7 separate regions of the Homo sapiens genome follow, and all the other regions are linked to region 5. Evidence: promoter capture Hi-C in 16 types of primary human blood cells and fetal thymus (Javierre and others, 2016). All regions are on one chromosome and are shown on one strand. The core of a region is centred on a gene start or on the middle of the fragment in contact, and the rest is flanking DNA. Distances in the headings are between cores, read along the strand shown.

Region 1 (3,033 bases), core at 172-2,671, 500 kb after region 5:
TGTTTGCATTTTAAAGCATTCTGAGAAAGGGGCTATAGGCTTTGTCAGATTGTCAAAGGTGTGGATGAGGCCAAAAAAAAAAAAAAGTTAAGGATCTTTAGGTTGTGGCAGGTCCTCATGAAAAACAAGAGAAAGATCAGCTCATTGCAGCACTGGTTTGTTAATAGTAACAATAGTAGCATTGTTTAATTTGTGTAATTGTATAATTTTCTAGGCTCTTGCTGTAAGTCAGCCCACTTTTACAGATGAGGAACCAAGACCCAGGGAAGATGGTAAGTCTGAACCATTTACAGAACATATTACTGCTACTGCGTTATGCTGAGACAGCTGTAGGAGTGGTTTTCTCTAAACCATTCTCATTTTACTTGAATTTAGATTATCTGATGACTTATAAAAAGCTTTTCCATAAACCAGGATTTGCTATGGCAGCCCTTGACCTTCAGACCTTTATTATGATTGTTAATACAAAAGGCTGTATCAGTTACCTGTTGTCAGACCAAGCTGCATTATTCTGCGTTATTTGAAGTTGGATAACCTCAAAACCGTGGCTTAAATCACTGAAGATTTATTTTGCTCACGAATATGCAGGTTGACTGGGGGCTCTGGACTCTTGGTGGGCTCACTCCCTTGTCTGCCCGTGGTCAGCTACGCATTGAGGCTGTGCTCCCACATGTCTGAGGGTTGGCTGCTCATTGGCTAATCGTGGCTGGGGTTGACTCCTACATCTGTGGTCAGTTGGTCAAAGAAAGGCTGGCTAGGCTAGGATGGTCTTGGCCAGACAACTTGGCTGTACTCCATGTGGTCTCCCTGACCCCAACAGGATAGCCTGGGCTTATTCAGATGGCCACTGAGCAGGTTTCCAAGAGAGTGAGTAAAAGTGCCCGAGCTTCGCAAAGCCCAGTCTCAGACCTGGCACATCATTTCAACAGTGTTCTGTTGGTCAGAGCAAGTCACAGGCCAGCCCAGATTCCAGGTGTGGGAAAAGGGACTCCTCTGGATGGGAGGAACTGCAAAGTCACTTTATAAAGGGCACAGGGACAGTGAGGGGTAGAGAATTGGGACCATTTTTGTAATATTTCTACCAAAGAGTCTATAATCTTCCCTTCTTGCACATATTTCCACCTCAATTTTCATCTTCAGTAAAACACCCACCTTCTCCTCCAGATACACTCATACAAGTACGCAAAAACACACGCAACAATCTTCATGGCCACAATGTCTGTGATAGCAAAAAACAGGAAAGGATTTGTTCAAAGTGGGTTGGATTGAAGCAGTATATGACGGCACCCTGGGAGACTATGTGACGAACACTATTCACACCCATGCGACATTTCCTGACAAAGACGCTGGACACAGCAGTGGCTGCCTTGGCAGATGGAGCTGGTGGGGCTTTGGAGTTGGTGGCAGGAATAAGATGCTTTTACTTTTCTCTTTATACTTTTCTATGTCGTTTGAAGTATTTTTAGTAGGTGCCAGTTTAACTTTTAAAATGCGAAAACTAATTTCTAAAAAGACATTCACATCATCTTACGGCCATCTCAAATTCCCAGTAAAAAACCAAATGCCCAATTCCTATATGCTGGAGTCATTACACAGTTGTTGATGTCTTTCTGCATTCACCAAAGGGGTGACCTACTTACCAGCAAAGCTGAACGGCATAAAGCCATGAGCGGGGAGGGCCTGGGAGGAAGCCACAATATGGCCAGAGTTCCTCTTCCCCTGCCTAGGGGCTGGCCCAGCTAGGGCCCCCTGTCCTCCTGACTCAGGGCCTTTGTGAGAAGAGCTATATCCAGATCATATGGTGCAAACTGACCACTGGAACATCAGTGCTTGAACTTCAACTGGGGAGAAAGTACAACAGCCTCTAAGAGATTGGGTTCTAGAATCAGAAAGACGTGGATCCAACTCCTAGTGCCACTACCTACTTCCTCTGGCTTGGGACAAGTCACTTAGCTACTCTGTGCCTCAAAATGTGATAGCTGTTATCATTGAGAAAGACATCCACACCTTGTCCAATCCCTTTTACTCTCTTGGCTCTTTTGATTACTTCTGGGCATTAGTCAGCTAGTCAAGTTGGGGGACCGAGTGATTGGGATCATTGAAAGATGAGTTAATTTACAGAGTAGCCACCTTTGGTGATTTTAAAATATGGCCCTAGAGTTATTTGACACCCTTCCAATAAGAGGTGGAGTCTCGAGTCCCTTGACTCCGGGCTGGCCTCTGGCTGCTCTGACCAGTGGAAGAGCAGAGGGACACTGTGTGGCTTCCGGTGCCATGTCAGAAAAGGACCTGCAACTTCCCCTTGGTTCTCTTGCACAGGGGAAGCCAGCTGCCATGTAAAAGGTCTGAGTACCTTGAGCCCTCCCTGCTGAAGCTGCCGTGTGCTGGGGCCCTGCATGGCAGCCAGCATCAACTACTGGCCCTAAGCCAGTAGTTAAGCTTTCCAGTTAAGCTTTCCAGTGGCCACAGCCCCAGCCAATATCTAACTGCAGCCACATGAGAGACCCCAAGCTAAATATGCCCTGCTGAGCCCCTTCCAAATTCCCGGCTCACAAAATGGCGAATAAAATAAAATGGTTATTGTTTTTATACCACTAAATTTTGTGGCAACAGTTACCAGGACACAGCTGAATTGAATACAAGCAAGGTTCTTAGAATCACTTCTTTCATTTAATTGCAAATGAACCCAAAAGAGATCCATTTACATTTTTTTGTTGTTTTATTGGATTACTCCTGATACTTTATCATAGCAAACCTGACACAAGTTTCACCTACACATCCTCTTTCCACATCCTCACTTCCCATTGATTTGCTCCTCAGCCAATCACAGTCTGCCTTGTTGATGCCTGGGAAGCTGCTCCTAGCCAGGTCGCTGCCAGCCTCCACTCTCTCTTGACCTCAGCTCTTCCCATGCTCATGGCTACCATCTTCCGGGTAGCATCCCCAGACTTGCTCTCTGCTGATCCTCCCCTCCCAGGGGCAGCACCACCAACCACCCAAACGTGCAGATTCAAAACCCAAGTCATCCTTGAT
Region 2 (3,103 bases), core at 549-3,048, 470 kb after region 5:
GAATTTGCCATTTTAAATAAAGTGACAGTAAGAAGATAAGACTTGAAGGAGGTGAAGGAGTTGCCAGGCATCTATCTGCGGGTATAGCATTTCAGGCAGAGGGAACAGGCAGCACAAAGGCCCTGAGACAGGACAATGCCTGACATGTTCAGGGGCTGAGAAAAGGGCCAGCGTGCCTGCAGCAGAGAGAACCAGGAGGTGGAGTCAGAGTGGAAATGAGGGTCCCAGCACATAGGGCCTTGTTGGCCATTGTAAGGACTTTGACTTTGAATCTGAGGGAAATGGGACCCCCAAAATGAGGTGTGTAGCATTAAGAGTGACTTAATCTAATTTACAGTTGAAAAAGGATTGTTCTGATTGCCATGTAGAGAATAGATGATGGAGGATGAGAGCCAAAGTGGGGAGACCAGTTGGGAGGGTATTAGAGGAATCCTTGTTCCTTGGACCAAGTGTTGGCAGAGAGGGCAGAGACCAGGGCAAATTCTGGACCTATTTTGAAGGTGGTGCAGACAGAATTTCCTGAAGGTTTAGATGTGGTCGTGAGAGAATAATCTATTCCACCAGTCCTCAGGTGACCTTGGACCACACTTGGACAAACACTATATTGAATTATGGGGCAGACCAAGCAGGAAGAATTAAATAGCTAGCCCACTCACAAGCTGTTGATGCTGGGGGAGTATGAAGTGTCAGGGCCACCCTTTCTGGAGAGCAACTTGGCTGCAGAATGTACCAAAAGTTCAAGAATTGCATTTTCTCTTTGATGCAATGGGCCTGTGTCTGGGAATTTATCCTGAGGAAATAATGACTGGAGGTGCAAAGATAAAGCTACCAAAATGTCCCTTGCATGCTACTCACAGCAGTGACAATTAGAAATAGTAACAGAGAACTTGGGTGGTCGTGAATGGCTGTTGAATTTTGCCAGATCTTTTTTCTACATCAATTGATAAGATCATAGGCTTTTTCTTCCTTAGCCTGTTGATATGATGGATTGCATTGATTGACTTTCATATATCAAACCAGCCTTGCATACCTGGGATAAATCCCACTGGCTGTGGTATATAATTCTTTTCACACACTGCTGGATTTGACAGAATATCTAAAGGATGTTTGCCAGATATAGAATTGAAAGTTCTTTTCTTTCAGCATTTGAAATATGTGTGCTGCTACTTCCCTCTGGCCTCCATGGTTTTAGATGAGAAATCCCCTGGCATTCAAATTGGTATTCCCCCATAGATAATAAGTTATTCCTCTCTGCCTGCTTTCAAGTTTTTTCTTTGTCTTTTGTTCTTAGACGTTTAATTATGATGGGTCTTGGCATGAATTTCTTTGGGTTTTTCCTATTTGGGGTACACTCAGCTCTTAAATCTCTAGGCTTATCTGTCATCATATTTGGGAAGTTTATAACCATCATTTCTTTGAACATTTTTTCAGATGCACTCTATTTTCCCTCTCCATTTGGGACTCCAGTGATACAAATGTGAGATCTTTTGTCCTTGCCTTGTAGATTCCTCAGGCTCTGTTCTTTTTCCTTGCACCCTGTCCCCCAATTCTCTTTTCCCTGTGTTGTTCAGATTGAGGAATTTCTGTTTTTCTCTCTTCAAGTATAACTGTCATCTTTATTCAGCTATTGAGTGTCCAGTGATTTTTTTTTTATTTTGGTTATTGTAATTATTTAGTTCTAAAATTTCCATTTGGTACTTTTTTATATCTTCTGTTTCTTTGGTATGAGTTTTCCACTGTTTTATTGTTTCAAGAACATTTAAAATTGTTACTGAAGCATTTTTTTTGATGGCTGCTTTAAAAGCCTTGACAGATAACTCCAGCATCTGGTTGATGTCAGTGTCGGCTTCTGTTGATTGTCTTTCCTCATGCACACTGTGATTTTCCTGGCTCTTAGGATAACGAGTGGTTTTTTATTATGTGTAGGTGGGGGGCTCAGAGACGCTAAGCTGTTGTGATTTTCCTCATATTCTGGGGGTCCTTAATCAGTCCGCCTTCCTTCTCCTGCCCTTCACTTTTACTACAACTGCTGAATCATTTTCAGTTTTTTTAGTGGCATTTAATGGGAAAGAACAGGGAAATGTTTGAAATCATTTATAATAAAACTGGTAAAAAACCTACCCTCAAGTAAAGGAATGAGGAAAGTTATGAGATTTAGAAATAACTAGACCACACAGATCCAAGGCAGGTCTTTGAGGAGAATAAGACAGTATGGAGAATAGGTCGGCTGGACATGGGAATAAAATGCAAGGAGAATGACAACACCTTGAAAGTTATTTTTTTCTGCCTCTTTCAAAGAGAGTGACAGCAAGCTAAGGATTAGCAACAACATCATGAGAGCATCTGAAAACATGTTAAAGGTTGGGATTATCTCAGAACACTGCAAATGTGTTGGTACCCCTTGACTCATGTAAACTGAAATTTCTTAGGTCACTCAGTGGAATTCACATCTGTGACATGAGCCTTATAGACAATAGGCATCTTAAGATTATATTATATTTGAGCAAACCTTTGATTTGTTTTTGTTAAGATCTGCTTTGGAGAGGCTGAGTATTGTCCTTGTCACTGAATAGATGATGTCTAGATGATGTCTAGACTAGATGATTGAGGCACAATCCAAATACCTGGGTGCCAGGGGAGAATTCTGGAGCATAAAATTATAAAATGCTCCAGCATTAATGTATTAATGGGGCATTATGTCAGGGTAAGTGACTTTTTACATGGTAATATGGTAAGATTTCCACATTACAAGAAAGATGTCTGTTCCAGAATGGACCCCCCAAACCTGCCCTCAGATTCTTGAAAATTGTAAATGTTGGTCGAGGGTTCTTAATTAGAAATAAAATTTAACACATGGAGAAGTATCGCATTGAATTGAATTCTCACAAAGGTGAGTATTGGAGCTGTTCTTTAAAGCATCCTGGTTTTTTAATCATTTCTTACCGTTCTCATTAGCTTTGGGGAGTCTGTCCATTCATCTCCACAGCTTTGGAGGCAGATGAACGCTCAGCACCACCACTTGCTGCGCAGTGTTGGGCAAGTTACCTAACCTCTTTGAAGTTAATTCCCTCCCCTGTGTTAAAGGGGATAGTAATACATTTTC
Region 3 (3,123 bases), core at 134-2,633, 340 kb after region 5:
CAGGGCTCAGTCCTCTAAGTGCTAACCTTGGTCATTCTCTGAAGCTCCTCACAGCCCTGGTGATTCCAGCAGTAATTTGCTCTGCTTGAGACAGATCTGACCCAGAGAGCAAGGCAGCAGTGGAGCTTGGTGTAGCCCGGGGCCACCACCTGCATTTCCCCAACTCTAATTGGTGATGCCGTGTAAGTGGGCTGTGTGTGGTTGGGTGAGCAGAGCAGGCTTCAAAGAAAAGGGCCTCCACCCAGGAGTCGGTGAATTTTACTGTCACCCGACATCAAGGGAGTATCATATGATATTTGGCAGGTGGCCCAGAACAGCTCAGCTGCCGGAGCTTGTTGTAGAGTGGACAGGTTAGCATTTGGGGGATTCCCCAGAGTGTGGCAAATGGAAGCTCAGGCACCTCTCTTAAAGCCACATCAAAGTTAAGTTGCTAGAAAGCTAGCAAGACTCCTGCAGGTAACAGTCCCTAAGGGGAGCCTGAAAGTGCGGGATGGGTGAAGGTGGGAAGGAAAAGCAGGTTGGGGATTTTCCCCTAACCAATATTACTTGTTTTGACTATTGCTACATAACAAAGTGCCCCAAAATGTAGAGGCTTAAAAGAACCATTTTATTAGATCTTATAATTTTGTGACCCAGAAAGTTGAGTAGAGCTTGGCTGGGTAACTCTATTTTTTTTTCCTTTTTTTTTATTTCTTTATTTTTTTGAGACAGGGTTTTTCTCTTGTTGCCCAGGCTGGAGTGCAATGGCGGGATCTTGGCTCACCACAACCTGCACCTTGCTGGTTCAAGCAATTCTCCTGCCTCAGCCTCCCGAGTAGCTGGGATTACAGGCATGCGCCACCACACCCGGCTAATCTTGTATTTTTAGTAGAGACGGGGTTTCTCCATGTTGGTCAGGCTGTTCTTGAACTCCCAACCTCAGGTGATCCACCCACCTCAGCCTCCCACAGTGCTGGGATTACAGGCGTGAGCCACTGCACCCGCCCTGGGTAACTCTTCCAAGTGGCATCAGTGGGGGTCCCTTGGTGCTGTTGAGCTGGTGGATACCTGGGGCTGAGCAGAGAAGGCTGGAGAGCTAGGCGCAGCTGGAACCATCTACCATTCCTGCATGTGGCCTCACCAGCATGGTGGCTTCATGTGTCGCACTTCGAAAGTGGTGGTCAGAGCACCAAGTGAGAATGTTCCAAGAGACCCAGGTGGAAGCTGCAAGGCTTCTTATGAGCTACAAGTCCAAGAATGTCACTCCAGCCACATTCTATCAGTCAAGCAAGTCAATGAGGGATTTCAAGGGAGTGGAATTGGACTTCATCTCTCAGTGGGAGGAGCAGTAAAGAATTTGCAGCCATATTTAACCTCCCATGATACAAGAGAGCTAGGAAAAACTTGCAAGGCTCATTGTGGGATTTTTTTACTCCATACATGTTTGTTGAGTTCCTGGTATGTGCCAGCTACTGCCCTAGGCACTGGAGAGACAGACCAATGAACAATACAGAGACATGATCCCTGCCCTTATGGAGACTGTAGTCTAAAAGAGTCTAACAAATAATTACGCAGTGCCTGGCACATGATATGTGTTCAGTCAATGTTGAATACTGGTATTATTATTGTTAAATAATCATTAGGGGCCAGACACATTGGCTTACACATGTAATCCCAGCACTTTGGGAGGCCAAGGTGGGAGGATCACTTGAGGCCAGGAGTTTGAGACCAGGATGGGCAACACAGCAAGACTTTGTCTCTACTAAAAATAAAAAAATTATCCTGGCATGGTAACATCCACCTTTAGTCCCAGCTACTAGGGAGGTTGAGGTGGGAGGATTGCTCAAGCCTGGGAGGAGGTCAAGGCTGTAGTGAGCCATAATTGCACCTCTGCACTCCAGCCTGGGTGGCAGAGCGAGGCCCTGTCTCAAAAAATATTAGTAATAACCATTGGGAAAAAAGATTTGCCATAAGCAGATAAACAACAGTGTGCCAAAGGGTACAATCAACAAAGAGGATTACATGTTTAGGAGGTTAACATTTAAGCCAAAGATGAGAAGTAATGAACTAGGGGAAGGGGGACGTGAGAGAGTTTTCAGGCAGAGGAAACAGTGTGTGCCCCACAGTGCAGTGGGCAAGGGCAGTGGGCATCGAGTTAGGCTGGGCAGGTGGCATAAGGACAGATCACCCGAGGCTCTGCCCTTGGGTGTTCATGTAGATCCACCTTCCACCTTTTCCACCTGCCTTGTGCTTCTGAGGACTGATGTGTATGAGCTGCACCCACAGTTCCCTTTTCTCCTGGTTGGCGACAGTGGAGGCACCAGCAGGAGTTTAGACAGGGGAACTCAGGGGTCGGGGGAAAAAGAAAGTGGAGTATGTATTTTTCTGGTTTCGTCTCTGCTGGACTGGGGTGAAAGTAACCATGTTCCTCTGCCCACGGCTGTGTGCCCTGCCAAGCAGCCCTCTCCTAAGGCTTTAGGTCTTACTAGGTTCTCCAATGGCTCTTTCTCCTATGTGCTCAGGCCTAGGATTAGTAGCAGCTTCCCACTATTGTTAGATCAGGGATACTTTACCATCCCTTCTTGCATTCCCTATATCCTGCCACACCTTTGTAAATGGTCTCTTCCTTGAATTGTCATCAATTACCTTTTTGAGAGAGCCACTTGATTCCTACTGGGACCCTGAATGATAGAGCTATAGCAGCTAGGATAATAATTCGGAACTTTATCCCAATAGCAATTCTAAGAAAATGATAACCTTCCATTCAGTGGTGTGCTAGTAAATTTTAACAACCAGGTCTCTAAAGGAAAAAGCTCTGATTTGCAGTGTTTGTCTTGAGGTCCAAATACTTCCACTTTGGCTGATTTCAAGCTTGCAACTTTCCTAAAAATAGAACACAAACTGGTATGAGCCAGCTCCTGCATACTTCTGCCCAGATCCAAAACCAACTCTCCTATCTTCCACCACTAGAGCCACCCCAGCCCAGAGATAGGCTAGGAGTTCCATCGGAGACGACAGGCCCTCTGGATGCTGCCAACCTCCTTTCTGCTCCTTTCCACAAGGCCCTGTTGCCTCCTGGGGAAAGGATGGCCCATGTTAGGCTTGAGAAGCCAGAATGGCCCTGAGCTCCTGTTCTGTTGGAAT
Region 4 (3,030 bases), core at 358-2,857, 290 kb after region 5:
TTTGCATGGAGTGGGACTCTGGCCAAGAGGGGAGATGCAGCCCACTCAATTTAGGAGGCCCACTCTGTCCGGGTGTCCCAGCTCCCCATAGAGGCCTTAGACAAATCTGAGACTGTTATTCAGGAGGCAACAGAGGCAACACAGGGAAAAAAGCAGGCACCACAACAACCAGGTAACCTGGTGCACAAGCCAAGGTAGGAGAATTGGACTATAAGTACTGCCTTGGTGGTTGGACATTTTCGGAGGTTGAGCATGTGTGACTGAGATGTATCCTAGATACAAAGCGAGTGCAGAGTCCCAATCCGCAGTTCCGTTCTCCTGCAAGTAATTCTCAGGGTGTGCAAGAAACCTCCAGGAGGGAGTGTTGAGTACACAGGGAAACGCTCAGACACAGAGACTGACTGAAAATGGGAAACAGAAATTCTAGGCCTAGGGGACAAAGGAAAGAGGGAGCTAAAGACTCCCTCTGACATTCCCATGGATAGTCCTTTGGGGAGAATGCTACAGGTTTTGAGGGACAACCCTTGAACCAGGGACAAGGAAAAGCAAAAGATAATAAAGCTTTGCTGTTTTATCTGGCCCAAAGACTCCATTCATAATCCTTCAGTCTTTTGGCCTAAGTTTGGTTCAGACAAGTGTTGGGTGTGCTGAGCTTTAATTCTCTATGTAAATAATAAAACCCCATCCTCACAAGAAGAGATAGGTTATGCTGTCTGCCAGATCAAGGAATTAGTTCCCATGTTCCCCCTCAAGAAAGGAGAAAAAGAGCCTAGTAAAAGCTCTGGGACCCCCCTATCATGCTTGCCTCCTCCATACGTCTCACAAAATAGGGGACAGGAAGATCAAGGGGCAACAAAGGGATTAGGGGAAGATTAGAAACCATGGGGGAGCCAAACCATCTACTTCTTTAAATCCTTATCCAAATCTAAGAAAACAATTACAACAGTGTAAGAGGACTACTGAGAACTTCCCTATCCCTTCCGCACAGCAAGCATCTAGCATGTTCCCTCTTAGGGAAGTTTCCATGGGACTGGGAGAGCTTGGCTTTGTAAATCCTCCTCTTATAAGTACTGATGTTAGGAATTTCAAGAAGGAAATGAAACCACTCCTAGAAGATCCCCTCGGTTTAGCAGACCAGCTGGACCAATTCCTAGACCCAGCTTTTACACCTGGGCCGAAATGATGTCTATTATGAATATCCTGTTCACAGGAGAAGAAAGGGGAATAATTAGGAGAGTGACCATAACCAACTGGGAGAGGCAACACCCTCCCAGGCAAGAAGTCTTGCCAGCCAAACAAAAATTTCCAAATGTCAATCCCGAATGGGATAATAATGATCCCAGGCACCAGGCCTGAATGCAAGACTTCAGGGAACTAATAATTAAAGGGATCAAAGAGTCCACTCCTAGGACACAAAATGTTTCAAAGGCATTCAAGATTCAACAAGAAAAAGGAAGAAACTCCCTCTGCATTCCTACAGAGGCTCAAAGATCAGATGAGAAAACACTCTGGATTCTATCCAGAGGACCCATTAGGGCAAGGCCTTTTGAAGGTCTTTGTAACTAAGAGCTGGCCTAACATTATAAAACAATTACAAAAGATCGATGGATGGAATGAGAAACAACCAGGAAAAGTAGTTTGCAGAAAACAATATCCCATTTCTATTGAAGGGAGAAAAGGTCTCCAAGCAGTAATAAAATGATAAAAGATGGACTATTAGAACCCTGCAGGTCACCATACAATATTCCAATTCTCCCAGTCAAAATATCTGGTGGGTCATATAAATTGTTGCAAAATCTAAGGGCTGTAAATCAAATTGTCCAGACCCACCACCCTAGGGTGCCTAAACCCTACACCCTCCTTAGTAAGATACCCTATAAACATAAGTGGTTCAGTGTGGTGGATCCAAAAGACACATTCTGGGCATTTCCCCTAGACTTTAGGAGTAGGGACCTCTTTGCCTTTGAATGGGAAATTCCTATAACTGGGAGAAAACAACAGTACCACCAAACTGTGCTGCCACAAGTTTTCACAGAAGCCTCAAACTTAATTGAAAAAGTCTTAGAAAAAGTCCTGAAGGAATTCCAACCTTCCGAGGGAACCCAGATGTTACAACATGTAAATAATCTTTTAATTTCTGGGGAGAGGAGGCCCGAGGAATCAAAAACCACCCTAAACTTGCTTAATTTCCTAGGAAAAAGGGGATTACGAGTCTCTAAGAACAAATTGCCATTTGTAAAAAAAAGAAGTTAAATATTTAGGAGACCTGATTAGTGAAGGGAAGTAGAAAATAAACCCAAAGAAAATATCGAGGATAGTGGCTCTGCCTTTGCCTTAGACAAAGAGAAACCTCCAAAAATTTTTAGGTTTAACTGGCTATTGTAGGTTATGGATGAACTCATATGCTCAAAAGACAGAGATTCTGTATCTCAAGTTACTAAAGAGGAACCCAATCCCTTGCAATGGTCCCCAAAGGAAATTCAGGCAGTAAAAGAGCTAAAGCAGGCCCTCATCACAGCCCCGGCCCTGGCCCTTCTGTCTTTAAAGAAACTATTCCATCTGTTCGTCACAGTAGATCAGGGCATGGCCCTTGGAGTGCTCACTCAAATCTGGGGAGGGAAGAGGCAACCTGTTGCTTTTGTCTCCAAGCTTCTCAATCCTGTCTCTCAGGGGTGGCCTGAATGTGTGCAAGCAGTAGCTGCCACAGCCCTGCTGGTAGAAAAGAGTTGAAAACTAACCTTTGGTGGGGCCCTAATAGTAAGCATTCCATACCAGGTCAGGAATGTATCAAATTGAAAAGCCGGGAGATAGTTAACGGATTCTCAGTTTCTAAAATATGACGCCATATTACTAGAAAAAGATGATTTGGTTGTAACCACAAATGCTTGCCTGAATCCAGCCAGTTTCCTATGGAAAGGAGAGGAGAACAAAGAGATATCAGACTGTAACTGTTAGATATCATAGAATACCAAACCAAAGTTAAATCAGACCTCAGGGAAGCTCCACTACATGATGGGACAAGGCTGTTTG
Region 5 (3,225 bases), core at 451-2,950:
GCAGTGGGTGGTGGCGATGAGTTTAGTGATGTGAACACTTTTGTCCAGATTGTAGCTGCTCTTGCAGTCACTCAGGGAGAAGTGTTCTTTGAAAGTGGACAGGAAAAATGCAATATTGTAGGGCGCCCACATCAGAAGGAAGACTACCATTATGGCAAAAACAAGCTTGAAAAGGCTATACCTCTGCTCCCTGAACCTTAGTGTTTTTCTCATTTGCACATAGAGAAATGTAAAAATAAATAGGGGGAGGACAAGAACCGAAATGTTCATTTTTAAAGTCAGAAAATGCTTCCAGAATGTCTCATCAGCTGGCAGGAAGGGAGTTCTGCTAAATGCACACTTGTATTTCTGGTCTTCCATCTGAGGTTTATAAACCACGAATTCAGGCAAAGTGGCCAGAATGGCTGTTACCCATGCCAGGACACTTGTAATGATGCCACAGGGCACCCTCCTCCTGGCTGAGAAAAAGTTTCCCTTGTGCAAAAACACTAGGTACCTTTGCACAGTCAGAAGGCAATTGAAAAATGTCTCACTGTACAGGCCCACGAAGTACAGTCCAATGAGAATTTTACACATGGGATCGCCCCCAGCATGAGCCCAGAAGGGCAGGGTAAGCAAGAAACACAAGTTAGAAACTGCCAAGTTTAGAAGATAGATATTTTCCACGCGTTTGAGTCCTTTATATTTTACCAGGATAAGCACAACCAGGAGATTGTCCAGGACACCGATCACAAACACAGCAGAGCAGAGTGATGGCACCAGCTGGGCTGAGAGTGCCTGGGCGTCATACTTGTCACATTGCTCTGCCTCATCGCTCTCCAGTTCACCTTCTATGAGGACATCATATTCATCCTCTGGTGCCAGCGTGTAATTGGCCATCTTCAGACTGCCCTGTGGAGAAATGGGAGATGATTTTCCCCTCCGACAGCTGCCTTATCCTGGAGGAAACAACAAACTGGACCTGGATTCATACAGCCCCACTTTCCCTTTCTGGAGCTACATTTTAGCCAGAGTAATTCCCTATTTCAGAAGACTGAAATAAACATTTCTTTAACGTGTGCCCACTTCCCCAGAGCAGCACCATTCCCAATCTAGTTGTTAAGCATGTAAGTGCTTAGCAGTGTGCCAGGTGCCACGGGAAATAAAGCTGGCATGACACCGCCTTGGTAGAACTTACCTTCTTTTAGCAGAAACAGGACTTGCCTACATGAACACAATATGTAAGAAAATATATAATTAAAGAGAACCAAGTACGATGGCTTACTTTTAAGAAACGGGTGTAGATCATAATTTCTGCATTTTAAAAAGTTTGCTCACCCCCCGAAGCAGCTTCCTGTGACAGCTGAGACGTTTTTCTCTCGAAGGGTATAAATAAATGTTTGCAAAAGTGAAACCATGCTCAGCATCAACATGGCCATAAGGGGTTAAATACATAGATGACACACAGATGACTTACCACTGGGCTGAGCTCCTGCAGGGGAAGGGCGCAGCCTCCAGACCCAGCATCCGGGAGCTGTGGGAATGGCCCCGGACAGTGGATGCCCTCCTTTTGATCAGACTGCTCCTGACCCTGAGGGGCACGAGAAACCACTGTTGATTCCCCTGGTGGCTCTACCCGCCCCACTCACCGAGCTCAGGGACCAACTGAAATAAAGTACTCAAAAGCTCCCCCAGGCCTCCAGAGGATCTCTGAAGCGTCTGAAAGCAACCGGGAAGTTGTTTCCTCCTCCCTCTGGCCCTGTACCCCGCCTTTGATTTCCCTGTGACCTTTGACAGCCGTCTTCTGGCCTTCTGAGATAAGGGAACTGTGTCACTGCCGCTCTGAGTGGTAGCAAGGAAGTGATGTCAAGGTGCTGAGAACTGCCAAGACGCTCTGGCTTGTGGCATGTGACACTCTGAGTAGGTAACAGGTACCAGCTACTGTCAGCAGGGAGGAAGGTATGTGGTGACCACGAGTCCAGACCTGAGGGTCCTGACCCTCTAATGCGGCCTCTCACCAGTGTTCGCAGAAACCCACCCGCTGATTCAATACGGGGACCAGGAACCTGCCATGACAGTCACGGTGTGTTTGGGTTTTTATTGTCATTTTTGAGGGGCACTGTGTGCTTTGGTTAAGACTGAGGCCTCAAAAGAGAATTTTAGGAAAATGGAAGCCACAGGGTGATGTCAGCTGGGAAAAGGCCAGGGGCAGAGGTGGGGTCTCAGCGGCAGTGAGCATAGGGCTGCCCTGGGTGTCAACACTGAGGAAAGCAAAGGGGTTTGCAAGCAGCCAGAAGTGATTGGTGCTGTGACTCATGGGGGAGCTGACCCCACTCGGAAAAGGAGAACCCAGAGGAGGAAAATCCCGTGGTGATGACACAGAGGCGACATCAAGTTGGGTGGGAGAGAATGTGAGGAGGACAAGTTTAACCCCAAACTGAGGCTGGGGGCTAGGGTAGGTTTGAGTCCAGAGAGAAGGAAATTGAGAGAACAGCCCAGATTTGGAATGGTGGGAGGAGGCTGTGGGGAGGGGAGGCTGTGGGAAGAGAGTGGGACGGGGAGGGCACGGTCTGGAAGAAGGACGAACCGAGAAGAGGAACTTGAAAATAATGAAAAAATCTAGATGAGCTTCTCTTGGGTCAACGACTCAGCAGCTGTGACTAACCTAATTTGGGGATCAGACCTATTTGCTTAGAATTTATATATTGATTAAATGACATCCTTTTCCCACCAAAGATGTGTCTGAGGTAGGATTGAATACAAAATTTGTACCTGTCAAAATAGAAATAGAAAATTAAGAAACTAGCCTGGCACTGAGGCGCATTCCTACAGCCCCAGCTACTCAGAAGTATGAGGTGGGAGGGTCGCTTGAGCCCAGGAGTTTGAGGCCAGCCTGGGCAACATAGTGAGATCCCGGATCTATAAACAATATAAAAATTAGCCAGATGCAGTGGCAAGTGCCTGTAATCCCAGACATTCCAGAGGCCAAGGTGGGATGTTCACGTGAGCCCAGGAGTTGGAGGCTGCGGTGAGCCATGATCATGCCACTCTGCACTCTGGCCTGGGTGGCAGAGCGAGACACTGTCTCTGGAAAAAAAAAAGAAGAAGGAGGAGGAGGGGCGGGGAGAGGAAGGGAGGAGAGAGAACTATTAAGAGAAAAATAAACACAGAAAGAGCCCAGACAAATATGTGATTGAGCATTAAATTTAACTCCACGTGTGCCGACAGACAAGGCAGAAAGAGAAA
Region 6 (3,168 bases), core at 530-3,029, 420 kb after region 5:
CAGATAGGGTGACCTTTGTGCCCAGAGCAGAGTTCTCTAATATTGTCGTTAAATTGTGTCTGTATCTGCTTCCTCCATGGCCTCCCCTTCCTCTGTGCAGGTGCCACCATGGAGTCTGACCACTGCTGAGCAGACAGCCACCGAGGGCCGAAATTCTGAGCCTTCCTCTGGACCCAGGCAGGAGACATACAGACAAGAAAGGCAAACTCACCATGGCCTCCACCAATGCAGAGAGCCAGCTCCAGAGAATCATCCGAGACTTGCAAGGTATGGTAGGTTGCTGGGCAGGCTGAGTTTGGTTTTGAGGGACTTGTGGCAGGGCTTTTTGCTGTTGCCAGTTGAAATTCAACCCTTTCATTTTTGTTCACACAACGAGTAATTGGAGTCCTCAGGTCACATCATATTGAAATATTTGGGTCTCAAATATCCACCTTGTGTAAGGCTTGGAAAGCTTGCCTGGTTTCCTTTCAGAGAACTGTAAAGCCAGTTTGTAAACAAAATCATACACCCGGCTCCAGGACTGGGTCTGATTTCCATTAGTGCACACATGTGTGTTTTGAAGCTGCCTGTTAAGTCTTTGGCTAAATCCCAAACTTCTGGGCTCTGATGAAGTTGGCTTCTTTGGAAAAGAATGTTCTTTCTCCCACTGAGCAGGAAGGACAGAGACCCACCTATCTTGTTTTGCTGCCCAACTGGGTCCTGGCTGGCGGATGGCCCATTGCCTGGGATGCACTGTAGGTCCAGTCCTGCTGCCTCCCAGACTTCCCTGAGCTCAGCGTTGTCCACTGAGAGAGGCTATGACTTGTATCCCTTATCTCACTGGAGAAAAGCAAGGCAGAGGAAGGTGCAGATAAAGTTTCATAGACTCAGGAGAAACGGACTATTTTCTTTTTGGCTGCAAATTCCAAGTTTCACTCTTTCAGATGCTGTCCCAGGGGTCAGAGTTTTTATAAGTTTTCCATCCCCACTCATCACCAGTGCTGACCTTTAAGCTCTTCGGAGCTCTAGGACACTTGATACTACACAGTCTGAAGCTGACCACTTCCTCCATGCCTGCAGAGTCCGCTGTGACACTTTTCTGACAGACTAAAGGCCCAGGCTTCTAACTGCTTGGGCACCACAAGCAGTTATCTCCCATACCAGGAGCCATTGGCCTAGCATGGCCACAGTGCAGTTCTCATTCTGAAGTTCCAAAGTCAACAAGATAAAAAACATTTTCTCAGGCTTTTAATCTTGTGTCTACCATGCCTTGGGCCTCTGATAGCTAACAATTTCATGGCATTTCATGTGCACCGGGCACTTTCTATACCAACAGCCTGGCACCAGTCTATGCTCCTAACCACTCTAGTCTACTTTCAGCTAAGACATTAGATGCTTTTTTAAATCTACACAGAGAGGCAGAGAAAGTGAAATGCCAGTCTCTGCAAATCTGAGTTTGCCACTGGCTTTAAGAGGTCTCTCCATAAAGTAGATAGTCTTTTCTGTGTTTCAATATCTGGTTCTTGAGGATAACTTTGAGACCTGGAGGTCCTTATTGGGAGGGAAGAGGGTGAAATAGGGGACCCTCAGGTAGAGCTTCTGATCTAGACCATTGTCTATCCTATGTACCAGCTGAGTCTGGCCACCCCCAACATCCTGGGCTGATTTCAATGTCCTTTACATAGGCCACAGAGCACTTTGGTGGGAATTCTTGAAAGGTGCCACTTTCTCAGTACCCTCCACTTTCATCTGTTGGTAAACGTCTTAATAAGCATACAAATCTACAGCATCTACCATGAGAGTGGAGTGTCCTTAACTGAGGCATCTTTGTGTGGTACACAGCCTTCACTCCTCTGCAGGGCAGCCCACTTATCCTCTTGGTGACAGCAGTTTCAAAGACTTTGGAGTCAGGCAGGGGTGTGCTCAGCTTCTGGCTTCTCTTTTAACCCTCGAAAATGTTGGACAAGTCCCTTCACCTTTCCAACGCACAGTTGCTTCCTTCATGTGCCAGGTGGGTTTGATGATAACACCCACTTCTCAAGATTATTGAAAGAATCAAATAGTAATTCCTGCAAAGCTAATATTACTTAGAATATCAGAGATTAGAGCTGAAAATTTCATATTTCATATCCAGAGTCTACTCCTTCAAAGTTTCAGGAGTTCCCAGATCAGGTTGCGAGTGTTTACCTGGCCTGAGGAGGCAGGAGGGTGGAGGAGGAAGGCTCTTTGTCTCTCCCAGGCCCCTGGCTCACTGGCTGTCAGTGCCAGCCATTGCAGACACTTCTAGCAAGGTACAGTGGACAACAGTCACTTGTAAGAATCAGTCCCAAGAACCTGTCTCCACCATTTGCTAATCTTTGCCTGAGGGGTCGTGTTGATTACATTTTCAGCCATCTTAGGCTTGGCTTCAGTCCTGGACAGGTCTGCTTCAAACCATGGTTCTTGGGAGCAGGGTTTAGGAATTTAAGAATTGCCAGAGAAGCAGATAGTTTTGTGAAGCACATCCCACCATCTCTGCTGGGAAAAGGTTTTCCAGGATCTAAACCAAATCCAGTGTCTCGATAGTCCCTCTGTCCCACAGCAGAGGCAGTGAGTGAGAGTCAAAGGTGGGTTTTCCTCTTTTCTACACAGGGAGGTGAATTATCTTAGAAGTTAAGAGGTGAGCTCTGGAGTTAGACAGCTCTTGAGAAAACCAGGGTTCTTATTCCAGCTCTGCTGTTTGCCACCCATGATCTTTGGCCAAGTGCTCTGATTTCTCTGTACACTCCTCATCTGCAAAATGGGGATAATCATAGCAGACTTCATAGATTCTAAATTGTACTTTTTTTTTTGACATTTTAACAGCTCTGAAACTGTAATGTATATTATAATTAATTGTATCTTAGATTCATCGAAATAAGGCAATCCCTGCCTCTCAATGCCATATTAAATGAGAAAAATACATGTAAAGGCCCAGCCCCTCAAGGACACTCAGTTAACAGAAGCAGGTGCGGTTGTCATTGTTGGAATTGTGATTGTCACTACTATTATTTGCACATACTGGGTATTCTGATCCTGCGCTTACCTATAATGAGCAGTAGGATTATAGTGAAGAACCTGAAATGTGGCTAGAATAAAGGTAAAGCTTTCTGGAAGTCAGTATTCAGGGACTGAATTGATTCATCCACACAGCAAACATTTGTTGTCCAG
Region 7 (3,103 bases), core at 447-2,946, 440 kb after region 5:
AGGAGCTGCAGACATGCCTGCAGGGCCTGGAGCTAGGAGCAGCAGAGAAGGAGGAGGACTACCACACAGCCCTGCGGCGGCTGGAGTCCATGCTGCAGCCCTTGGCACAGGAGCTTGAGGCCACACGGGACTCACTGGACAAGAAAAACCAGCATTTAGCCAGCTTCCCAGGCTGGCTAGCCATGGCTCAGCAGAAGGCAGATACGGCATCAGACACAAAGGGCCGGCAAGAACCTATTCCCAGTGATGCGGCCCAGGAGATGCAGGAGCTAGGGGAGAAGCTTCAAGCCCTAGAAAGGGAGAGAACCAAGGTCGAGGAGGTCAACAGACAGCAGAGTGCCCAACTGGAACAGCTGGTCAAGGAGCTTCAGCTGAAAGAGGATGCCCGGGCCAGCCTGGAGCGCCTGGTGAAGGAGATGGCCCCACTCCAGGAGGAGTTGTCTGGGAAGGGACAGGAGGCAGACCAGCTCTGGCGACGGCTGCAGGAGTTGCTGGCCCACACGAGCTCCTGGGAGGAGGAGCTAGCAGAGTTGAGGCGGGAGAAAAAACAGCAACAGGAGGAGAAGGAGCTGCTGGAGCAGGAGGTCAGGTCTCTGACCCGGCAGCTGCAGTTCCTGGAGACCCAGCTGGCACAGGTGAGCCAACATGTGAGTGACCTGGAGGAGCAGAAGAAGCAGCTCATTCAGGACAAAGACCACCTCAGCCAGCAGGTGGGTATGCTCGAGCGGCTTGCTGGGCCGCCTGGCCCAGAACTGCCAGTGGCAGGTGAGAAGAATGAGGCCCTGGTCCCTGTGAACTCCAGTCTGCAAGAGGCCTGGGGGAAGCCAGAGGAGGAGCAGAGGGGCCTGCAGGAGGCACAGTTAGACGATACCAAGGTGCAAGAGGGCAGCCAGGAGGAAGAGCTCCGGCAGGCCAACAGGGAGCTGGAGAAGGAGCTACAGAATGTGGTCGGGCGTAACCAGCTCCTGGAGGGCAAGCTGCAAGCCCTGCAGGCCGATTACCAGGCTTTGCAGCAGCGGGAATCAGCCATCCAGGGCTCCTTGGCCTCCCTGGAGGCCGAGCAGGCCAGCATCCGGCACTTGGGTGACCAGATGGAGGCGAGCTTGCTGGCTGTAAGGAAGGCCAAGGAGGCCATGAAAGCCCAGATGGCAGAGAAGGAGGCCATTCTACAGAGCAAGGAGGGCGAGTGTCAGCAGCTGCGGGAGGAGGTGGAGCAGTGCCAGCAACTGGCAGAAGCCCGGCACAGAGAGCTTAGGGCTCTCGAGAGCCAGTGCCAGCAGCAGACCCAGCTGATTGAGGTCCTCACAGCAGAGAAAGGCCAACAGGGAGTTGGCCCACCCACTGACAATGAAGCCCGTGAGCTGGCTGCCCAGCTAGCCCTGTCTCAGGCGCAGCTGGAAGTCCATCAGGGGGAGGTCCAACGGCTGCAGGCTCAGGTGGTGGACCTCCAGGCCAAGATGCGGGCAGCCCTGGATGACCAGGACAAGGTGCAGAGCCAGCTAAGCATGGCTGAGGCCGTCCTGAGGGAGCACAAAACCCTTGTGCAGCAGCTGAAGGAGCAGAATGAAGCCCTTAACAGAGCCCATGTCCAGGAGCTGCTGCAATGCTCGGAGCGTGAAGGGGCACTGCAGGAGGAGAGGGCCGATGAGGCCCAGCAGAGGGAGGAGGAGCTGCGGGCCCTGCAGGAGGAGCTGTCCCAGGCCAAATGCAGCTCCGAGGAAGCACAGCTGGAGCACGCTGAGCTGCAAGAGCAGCTGCACCGGGCCAACACAGACACAGCTGAGCTGGGCATCCAGGTTTGCGCACTGACCGTGGAAAAGGAGCGAGTGGAGGAGGCACTGGCCTGTGCTGTCCAGGAGCTCCAGGACGCCAAAGAGGCAGCCTCAAGGGAGCGAGAGGGCCTGGAGCGCCAAGTAGCTGGGCTGCAGCAAGAGAAGGAGAGCTTGCAGGAGAAGCTGAAGGCGGCCAAGGCAGCAGCCGGCTCACTGCCTGGCCTGCAGGCCCAGCTCGCCCAGGCAGAGCAGCGGGCCCAGAGCCTCCAAGAGGCTGCACACCAGGAGCTCAACACCCTCAAGTTCCAGCTGAGTGCTGAAATCATGGACTACCAGAGCAGACTTAAGGTAATCCTAGCTTCAACCACTTGGGCTCTACCCCTCTCCCTGGGCAGGCCTGGTGGGTCCATGGGAAGATGCACCTTTAGCCATGAGGCAGGTGAGGGCTGGAGAATGTACTGTGGGTGCAGGCAAACACCTTGTGGCCCTTTCCTATCACAGCTCCCAGTAGCATCTTTCTCTCTGCAGGAATATGTTAGGCGCAGAACATTGGGAGTGATGCCTTAGCCCAGAAGTTTAAACTCAAGACCATTGCAAACAAGATTAGCCCACACAGAAGTTTGTAAAACTAGTAGCCAACATTGAAAGAGCAGGGTGTTTACAAATATAGTTTGAGGGCTTTTGAAAGCCTGCGTCCTCACCTTGCCCCCGCCCTGTGGCAGCAGTCAGCAGGAACCTGAGGGTGTCTGCCCACTTTAAAGGAGGCACACATCCTCTGCACTTTTCCTTACACTGGTTTCTGTACTTGCCCAGCCCCGCCGGGCATGTGAGTGTGAGAGCCCTGACTTGGCCTCTAAAACCCCTGCAGAGGGCCAGCAGTTCACAGCTGCCTCATGTCCTATCTCTGAGTTCTTAATGAATAACCAACCCCATCAGGTGCTCTCCTGACAGCAGATACAGGGAAGGGAACAAGCTCACTTCATTTTTACAAGGCCCTTGGGACAGACAAGTTAATGAGATGAGCAGTTACTATGTGCCTTTGATAGTACACAAAGATGAGGGGTTAAGGACTGTCTAGAGTGAAGACAGCGCAGAATGGCCTGGGGCTTTGGTTTCCAGGGCTTGCCACTAGTCTGTCTGCATCAAGGTCTGTGCACTCTCAGGCTACTCCTAACCCTCCTCTCTGAGGCAGCTCCACCGCAGTGCCACAGATGTGCCTCCCCACCCAGTGCCACCCCACTCCGTGAAACTCCATGTGGCTTATAGCCAACTTTTTCCCTTGCGGAAATTAAGTTCTAAGTTTGGGGACCAGGCTAAGTCTCTTTTCTTAG

Evidence for each region. The method cuts DNA at HindIII sites, captures the fragments that hold promoters and counts their contacts. A CHiCAGO score of 5 or more calls a contact.
Region 1: a contact is called between a fragment that was not itself captured here and the fragment with the promoter of CCRL2 in region 5, in 1 of 17 cell types (neutrophils). The highest score is 6.1, in neutrophils.
Region 2: a contact is called between a fragment that was not itself captured here and the fragment with the promoter of CCRL2 in region 5, in 7 of 17 cell types (neutrophils, monocytes, M2 macrophages and 4 more). The highest score is 12.0, in neutrophils.
Region 3: a fragment that was not itself captured here is called in contact with the fragment with the promoter of CCRL2 in region 5 in 1 of 17 cell types (neutrophils); the score reaches 5.8 in neutrophils.
Region 4: a contact is called between a fragment that was not itself captured here and the fragment with the promoter of CCRL2 in region 5, in 1 of 17 cell types (M0 macrophages). The highest score is 5.4, in M0 macrophages.
Region 6: a contact is called between a fragment that was not itself captured here and the fragment with the promoter of CCRL2 in region 5, in 1 of 17 cell types (megakaryocytes). The highest score is 5.2, in megakaryocytes.
Region 7: a contact is called between a fragment that was not itself captured here and the fragment with the promoter of CCRL2 in region 5, in 1 of 17 cell types (monocytes). The highest score is 5.1, in monocytes.

Annotation. Positions count from the first base shown.
Region 1 is chr3:45,910,359-45,913,391 of GRCh38, reverse strand. It overlaps a transcript of LZTFL1 not described here. Among named protein-coding and RNA genes, the nearest start is that of CCR9, 25 kb to the right of the region's middle. The HindIII fragment of the contact is 2,041 bases long and covers 401-2,441 here.
Region 2 is chr3:45,932,543-45,935,645 of GRCh38, reverse strand. All of the region lies in intron 15 of FYCO1 (FYVE and coiled-coil domain autophagy adaptor 1), which reads left to right. Among named protein-coding and RNA genes, the nearest start is that of CXCR6, 9.4 kb to the left of the region's middle. The HindIII fragment of the contact is 3,840 bases long and covers 1-3,103 here.
Region 3 is chr3:46,062,673-46,065,795 of GRCh38, reverse strand. It overlaps a transcript of XCR1 not described here. Among named protein-coding and RNA genes, the nearest start is that of XCR1, 37 kb to the right of the region's middle. The HindIII fragment of the contact is 2,939 bases long and covers 1-2,852 here.
Region 4 is chr3:46,115,155-46,118,184 of GRCh38, reverse strand. No RefSeq gene overlaps it. Among named protein-coding and RNA genes, the nearest start is that of XCR1, 89 kb to the right of the region's middle. The HindIII fragment of the contact is 2,088 bases long and covers 564-2,651 here.
Region 5 is chr3:46,405,734-46,408,958 of GRCh38, reverse strand. CCRL2 (C-C motif chemokine receptor like 2) reads right to left here and starts at 1,700. Exons shown (of 2, transcript NM_003965.5): 1 at 1,457-1,700; 2 at 1-891. The coding sequence starts at 879. It overlaps CCR5AS (CCR5 antisense RNA), which reads left to right and starts at 1,893. Exons shown (of 4, transcript NR_125406.2): 1 at 1,893-2,062. The HindIII fragment of the contact is 3,797 bases long and covers 168-3,225 here.
Region 6 is chr3:45,981,955-45,985,122 of GRCh38, reverse strand. It overlaps FYCO1 (FYVE and coiled-coil domain autophagy adaptor 1), which reads left to right. Exons shown (of 18, transcript NM_024513.4): 2 at 101-267. The coding sequence starts at 213. Among named protein-coding and RNA genes, the nearest start is that of FYCO1, 12 kb to the left of the region's middle. The HindIII fragment of the contact is 2,652 bases long and covers 454-3,105 here.
Region 7 is chr3:45,965,294-45,968,396 of GRCh38, reverse strand. FYCO1 (FYVE and coiled-coil domain autophagy adaptor 1) reads left to right here. Exons shown (of 18, transcript NM_024513.4): 8 at 1-2,120. Among named protein-coding and RNA genes, the nearest start is that of CXCR6, 23 kb to the right of the region's middle. RefSeq lists enhancers at 1-82, 83-722. The HindIII fragment of the contact is 2,826 bases long and covers 284-3,103 here.